2 separate regions of the Homo sapiens genome follow, and region 1 is linked to region 2. The links are contacts of gene promoters, found by promoter capture Hi-C in blood cells and fetal thymus (Javierre and others, 2016). All regions are on one chromosome and are shown on one strand. The core of a region is centred on a gene start or on the middle of the fragment in contact, and the rest is flanking DNA. Distances in the headings are between cores, read along the strand shown. Region 1 holds the start of KLHL6-AS1 (KLHL6 antisense RNA 1). Region 2 holds the start of MAP6D1 (MAP6 domain containing 1).

Region 1 (3,527 bases), core at 311-2,810, 280 kb after region 2:
TTACTATTTCTGGATCACTTATTCAGTAGATGTGGACTTCTAGAACAGTCTCTAGCTTTCTCATCTTCTCTCTCCTGTTGTCCATCCTCTTATCTTTCTGTTTTACTTTCTGGAAGATTTTTCTCAATTTTATCTTCCAACCTGTTGAGAATCTCAGTTTTTAACTTCCAAGACTTTTTTCTTGTTTTATGTATGAAGCTTCCTTTTTATAACATCCTGTTCTTGTTTTGTATAGGTCATATTTTCACTTAATCTCTTTGAGGTTTATATTTTTTAAAAAACCACTCTTCTGTTTTTGTTTGTTTTTTACTGTTTGTTTTCACTGTATTTTTCTCTTTGTTTTTGTCTCTTTTATTCTATTTTATGTATGTATTTATTTATTTCCTAGAGACAAGGTCTCCCTATGTTGCCCAGATAGTTTCAAACTCCTGGGCTCAAGGGATCCTCCTGACCCGGCCTCCCAAAGTGCTAGGATTACAAGCATGAGCCACCACACCTGGCCTCTGTCTTTTATTTTAGAGGCTATACTTAAATATCTGGTAGTCTTTGGATATCTGTTCCTATTTAAGAGTCAAGCACTAACATGGTGAAACCCCATCTCTACTAAAAATACAAAAAATTAGCTGGGCGTGGTGGCACATGCCTGTAGTCCCAGCTACTCGGGAGGCTGAAGCAGGAGAATTGCTTGAATCTGGGAGGCGGAGGTTGCAGTGAGCCAAGATCATGCCACTGCACTCCAGCCGGGGCAACAGAGCAAGACTCAGGTGTCCCGACCTGACGAGTGCCATTCAAGTTGGATTTAGCCATGAAATAAGTTACAAAAAACTTTACATTTATCAGCACTTTGGGAATTTTGAAACTACAGATAAGGGATTATAGATATATAATGCTGAAATATTTACTATCATATTGGTTCTGATCCACAATATTGGAAAATATTAAAAGTGGAAAATATAGGGCCTGACCCTGGTGTTACAATCATTGGCTTCACTTGAGTTCTCAAGTGTACCCACTGTGGCAGCAGCAATCCTCAACACATTTGCTGTTAGCCAGATTTTTAATACAGACCTACATGGCCTTAACTCATTCTTGTTTTTCTTGGCACTTATTCTCTTTTTTAAAATTTGTTTAAATTTTACTTTAAGTTCTGGGATACATGTGCAGAATGCGCGGGTTTGTTACATAGGTATACACGTGCCATGGTGGTTTGCTGCACCTATCAACCCATCATCTAGGTTTTAGGCCCTGAATGCATTAAGTATTTTTCCTAATGCTCTCCCTCCCCTTGTCCCCCACCCGCCGACAGGCCACGGGTTGTGTTGTTCCCCTACCTGTGTCCATGTGTTCTCATTGTTCAACTCCCACTTATGAGTGAGAACATGCGGTGTTTGGTTTTCTGTTGCTGTGTTAGTTTGCTGAGAATGATGGTTTCCAGCTTCATCCATGTCCCTGCAAAGGACATGAACTCATTCCTTTTTATGGCTGCACAGTATTCCATGGTGTATATGTTCTTGGCACTTATTCTATCACCTGGGCTTTCTGACTCTTTTCTGACATCTTACCCCATTATGGAGACAAAGCTCAGGATTACAACATCTACATGTGGCTTAAGAGTAGTCTCTTGCCCCACTTTTCTGCCATGCAGTAATTGGTTAATATGTAATAATGATTAACAAGTGCATAGATTGTGCTCACAATAACCTTCCCATTCCTGGCCTTATGCCTGATTTTTGTAGCTGGCGGGTAAAGTCCTCTCAACATAGCCTCAAGGAACCAGACCTAGAGACTGCGGTACAAGACAGGAGTGAGACAGGAATCCAGACAAGGATTCCAGGCAGCAGCATCAACAAAGGAGATTGCTAATGACTCAGCCTCAGCCTGGAAGCTTTTCTATGCATGAAGGAAGGGCCAGTCATGAGACAGGGCAGAGAAAAGCCTGATAACCCCTCCCCTCATCACTAGGACTCCCCTCCCTCTGCCAACCCTGGGAATCACAGCAGGGCTGCCCTCACAGGTCACTGTCACTTACAGAGTGTGCCATATTTTGCAGTGAGCTGGGCTTCCCAAATGGTGAGAACCAGTTTCTGGTTCTAGCCACAGTGAGGTCCCATATATTTTCAGAGCGCACTGTCTTTTCACCTTGCACACCCTGACCCTGCTTCCTTGTCTCTTTTTTAACCCTTTGATCCAGACTGATGTCCTAAGGCATGCTGGGTCCTTGCTGCTATGGGGGTCTGTCAGCTCAGCCCCCAGACATAAACTGGAATGAATGTTCCAACAGTATCCTGCCTGTGCATGTGTGTATGAGCACAAGGAGGCTCTGATTTTTACATTTCCTCCTCATTTTCAGCTTATGTAGCCTACACTAGCAAAAGAGTCTTGGGGAGCTGAGGGGTCATAGGAAATGACCTGTTAGCCACATTTCTGTTCTCTGTGAAGAGGCCTGTTTTCAGTTTAGACATCATGGGGAAACCACTCTTCCCATCAAAGTGAGCTCCCCCAAGGATGAAATGGACACCATGCTATCTACTTGATATTATGAAGACTGAATGAAATAAAAAGAATCCAGCAAAGTGCCTGAAAAAATGTAGGCCGTCCATATTCCAAACTGGGAAAAAATGCTTAATGCAAAGATTACCACGTCACGTATAAAAACAAAATACTGGAAGCAACCTAAATGTCCACAGTGAGAGAATGATTTTCATATTATGCCTCTGTTGAAATTGGTAGCAATATAATAAATAGTCATTATGAAAAGCATGGAGCACCGTAGGAAAAATATTATAATGAAAACAGGGGGCAAAGCAAGATGCAAAATTGCATGTAAACTATGGAAAGATATGCATGTGAGAAAAGGTAGACAAATAACACCAAAATGAAAACTGTTAACATTATCAGAAAGCCCCATAATCCCTTACCCAAAAATCTGGGAGCCAGATGTGCTTTGCCATTCAGAATTCTTTGGATATTAGCATATCTTAAATGTTATATAGCACCTCCAGCGCTCTTTAGTCTAATGCATTAGTACTTCAGCAGTGAGTATACAAATAGTTGTCCTAAGTGGAATAAATAAAGACTCTGAGGTCGGGTGCAGTGGCTTACTCCTGTAATCCCAGCACTTTGGGAGGCTGAAGCTGGTGGATCACCTGAGGTCAAGAGTTCAAGACCAGCCTGGCCAACATGGTGAAACACCGTCTCTACTAAAAAATATAAAAATTAGCCAGGCACGGTGGCGTGTGCCTGTAGTCCCAGCTACTCAGGAGGCTGAGGCCGGAGAATCGATTGAACCCGGACGGCGGAGGTTGCAGAGAGCTGCGATCATGCCACTGCATTCCAACCTGGACGACAGAGTGAGAGATTCCGTCAAAAAAAAAAAAAAAAAAGACTTATGGCACTGGGGTTTCAGTCCGGACTCGCCACTTGTTGGCTGTGTAAATCTTGGAGGAATTGCTTGGCTCCTCTGAGGCTCAACGCCGATGTCTACAATAGAGCGAGGCTAACAATTTACGTCTACCGATCCCAGCAAG
Region 2 (3,617 bases), core at 378-2,877:
CTGGGATTCCACGCATGAGCCATCTGCACCCGGCCATATGAAAAGCTAAAATTCCTTAGTGTGGCCACCAAGACCCTCCATGGTCTGCTACCTCAGCTGAACCCTCCTCCCCCGTGACCTACATTCCCACCTGGCCCAACCACCCTCCCTCACAACAGGTGGCGAGTCCAGCTTTCCCCAGCCTGCCTCCCTCTCATGCTGACCTGGCCTTGTCAGTTCAATTACACTTCCTTCCGTCCCTCACTACCACACTAAACCTCCTGAAGGCACCCAGAATTATTCCTAGCACATAGCAACTGCTCTTTGACTGTTGTTTGATCAATGAAGTAATAAAAAGAGAGCTGCTCTCTTTTCCTGCGAGATGGAGAATTTTAGTCCCAAGCGCCATCTGCCAGGCTGGCTAACCCAGGGCCGTGGCGGACAGTCCACAAAGAGTTCACTCTGACCCGGCCCCTGTGTGTCATTTTCCAGGATCTCCCTCTACACCTGGCGCCTCGCCTGCTGCCTGCTGGGACATGGCCTGGCCTGCTCAGCTGACCTGCTGCCACTTCTAGGCAGCCGTCATGTCACTTTGCTACAACTTCAAGCTAAGACAGGCAATGTTTTGGGAGATGAATCTGTTTTCTGACTGGCCAGGGATGTGCTGCAGTCCCCTCCCAGGCGCAGACTGGATACCTTCCAAGTACAACCTTGAAATGGAGCTCTGGGTAATTAATGCTGTCTCAGTAGTGTTATTAGTAATTGGTCTGCAGTGTATACCGAGAGCATGTGTCAAATATTCAGAAAAGCGTTTGTGGGTGGTCAGGGAGTTGTTTGAGACGGTGTCCTGCATTGAACAGACCTGCCTTTACGCTGGAGGATCCCTCAACAGCTCTGCCTGAAAACAGCCATGCATGCACAGGAGGAAAGGAACTTGATAGCCTTGTGGCCAGTTCTGTGGCCGCTTTATCAAACTAAAGCTTTTGCAAATGGCCATGCTTTAAAATTAGGAATTTCAGAACCCAGGGAAAGGTCGATTGGTGGCTAATGCCAATTCTAATGAAAAGTGGATTGGTTGTCACAAATGTAGACTAGCATCCTAAAGGCAAATAGGCGGCGACTCACAGGCTGACTGAAACACGTGTTCTCCGGGAAGCAGGGCCCCGAGTCTTCTCTGACACCCTCATTGCTGCACCTGCCCCTGTGCCCGCGGAGTCCATGCGGTGCAGCCTGGCACAAATGCAGCAGTCGCTGGGCGTCCCGAGGCCACATGGAGAACCTCCCGGCTGGCGGACTGCTCCCAGCTGCGACCATCGGGCCCTTGGCCTCTGCGAAGCCGGGGCCATTTATAAGATGACACTGAGGGAACTTTGGATTCAATTCTGAGGCATTCTTCGAGATGGACACTTGTAAATGAATGCAGGCGGTTTCCGGTGCCCCCTGGCGACGGTGCAGCCTTTCCCCCATCCGCGCTCCCTCCAGCTCCAGCCGTGCGCAGCCGGCCCCGGCCAAGTGGGGCTGCCGCCGAGTGCGCCCCCTCCCGGGACGCCCACCCTCGTGCCGGGGGGCGGTGCTGCGGCGGCGCGGGGCGGGCCGCGGGGGCGGGGACGCTGGGCGCAGGAGGCGCGGCCGGGAGCGCCGCGCGCCGGGAGCGGGGCGGCGGGCGCCGGGGCTGGCATGGCGTGGCCCTGTATCAGCCGCCTGTGCTGCCTGGCGCGGCGCTGGAACCAGCTGGACCGCTCCGACGTGGCGGTGCCGCTCACTCTGCACGGCTACTCGGACCTCGACAGCGAGGAGCCGGGCACGGGCGGCGCCGCCTCGCGCAGGGGCCAGCCTCCCGCGGGCGCCCGGGATTCCGGCCGGGACGTGCCGCTCACTCAGTACCAGCGGGACTTCGGCTTGTGGACCACGCCCGCCGGGCCCAAGGATCCGCCGCCGGGGCGCGGACCGGGGGCGGGCGGCCGCAGGGGCAAATCCTCCGCGCAGTCCTCCGCGCCACCTGCGCCCGGCGCCCGCGGGGTCTACGTGCTGCCCATCGGCGACGCGGACGCGGCTGCAGCAGTGACCACGTCGTACAGGTATGGGCTGGGTAGGGACCGCAACGAGTCCCCACCCTGTGGTGGGAGGACGCGGAGGCCCGGAGCCAGAGGGATGGGGTGGGCGGCAGAGCGGAGGCGCCTGGAGCCCGGATCCCACGCGACCTCGGAGCTGCCGGCGGCCTCAGAGGTCACCCCCGTTTGGTCCGTGGGCACTGCAGGCGGCGCCTTCGCTGCTCCATGCCCGGACTCAGTGCTCGAGCACCCCCGTGCCGGGAGCGCACCGCTGCCCTCGCAGCCGCCCTCCTGGGGGCAGCCGTCAGAATGGCCTGCCTTCAGCCGAGTTGGAACCGGCCTCCCTTTAACTCCCACCGCCGGGCCTAGCCGTGCGAGGGGTGCGCGCAGGCCATGTCCCCCAGCTCTCTCCGGTCACTGCCTAGTGTGCGGGCGTTGGTGGTGAGGACCGAGCGCAGGGTCCCGTGTGGGTGAGCCCTTCAGAGTCCCACTGTGACAGGGGCTTTCAGGGAGAACGGGTCCGCGGGCCCTCCCCACCTCCCAGCCCAGCTCTGCTCCTGGACAGCCGAGGGCTTTCTCCCTTTTTTCCTCTTACCACAAAAGTAATTCATACTGTAGAAAAATGGGAAAGTACAGAAATTACAACAAAATACGTATCTCCTTGATCCCTCCCCAGACGAGTTCTTTCTACTCCGTAATGTGCATTTGGTGCATATGCACTGATATATTTTTACGTGGTTAGATTCTTACTGTACACTTTTTTCACCAGTTGTAGAAGTCTGTCCGTGTTACTACATGTTCTGCAACATGAATTTTAATAAACGTGCAGTATTTTATCCTATGGATATGCCTTTATATCTTCAAGTTTTATTTATCTACTTCCTTACCATTGACTATTTAGGGTGTTTCTAATGTGGGACTATTAAAAGCACTACTTTTCCTTTGATGCAGCTATTTCACTACTAGGAATTTTCCCTACAGGTATCCTACAAGGTAGGGTGGGAGCTCAGGAGCGTAAGATAGGTGGAGACATTGTACAACAAACCCCTTGTCCTGCTGATGTAGGGAACTGGTTAATTATAGCACAGCCATGAAATGGGATACTGAAACCCAGCGGATCTTAAATATACGCATACCAAAAAAGCAAGGTGCCCAGCAGCACGTAGGCTATTTGTGTTTTAAAAAGGGGTATTAATATACACACATATGCTCAAATAAGCACAGGATGCCCTGATGGATGTCTGAGGAGATGGTACCGTTAGGGAGAGGAACTTGATAGGGACTGCCAGGGGTGGAAGGCTTTTCACTCTGCTCTTTTGAACGATTGCTTTTTTTGCCTTTGTAACATGTCCATGTATTGCCTATCTTTTTAACTTTTTTTTTTGGAGACGGAGTCTCGCTCTGTCACCCAGGCTGGAGTGCAGTGGTGCAATCTCGGCTCACTGCAATGTCTGCCTCCCTGGTTCCAGCAATTCTCCTGCCTCAGCCTCCCGAGTAGCTGGGATTACAGGCTTGTGCCACCATGCCCAGTTAATTTTTATTTTTATTTTTATTTTTGATTTTTTTCTTTTTTGAGACAGAGTCTCG

Evidence for each region. Contacts are between HindIII fragments. The CHiCAGO score rates a contact against its expected background, and 5 or more counts as called.
Region 1: the fragment with the promoter of KLHL6-AS1 here is called in contact with the fragment with the promoter of MAP6D1 in region 2 in 8 of 17 cell types (erythroblasts, megakaryocytes, neutrophils and 5 more); the score reaches 13.5 in erythroblasts.

The regions. Positions count from the first base shown.
Region 1 is chr3:183,546,768-183,550,294 of GRCh38, reverse strand. KLHL6-AS1 (KLHL6 antisense RNA 1) reads right to left here and starts at 1,560. Exons shown (of 2, transcript NR_046687.1): 1 at 1,332-1,560. All of the region lies in intron 1 of KLHL6 (kelch like family member 6), which reads left to right. The HindIII fragment of the contact is 1,687 bases long and covers 201-1,887 here.
Region 2 is chr3:183,823,587-183,827,203 of GRCh38, reverse strand. MAP6D1 (MAP6 domain containing 1) reads left to right here and starts at 1,627. Exons shown (of 3, transcript NM_024871.4): 1 at 1,627-2,057. The coding sequence starts at 1,657. It also overlaps a transcript of PARL not described here. RefSeq lists silencers at 1,420-1,769, 1,830-1,899, 1,920-2,049. The HindIII fragment of the contact is 2,997 bases long and covers 962-3,617 here.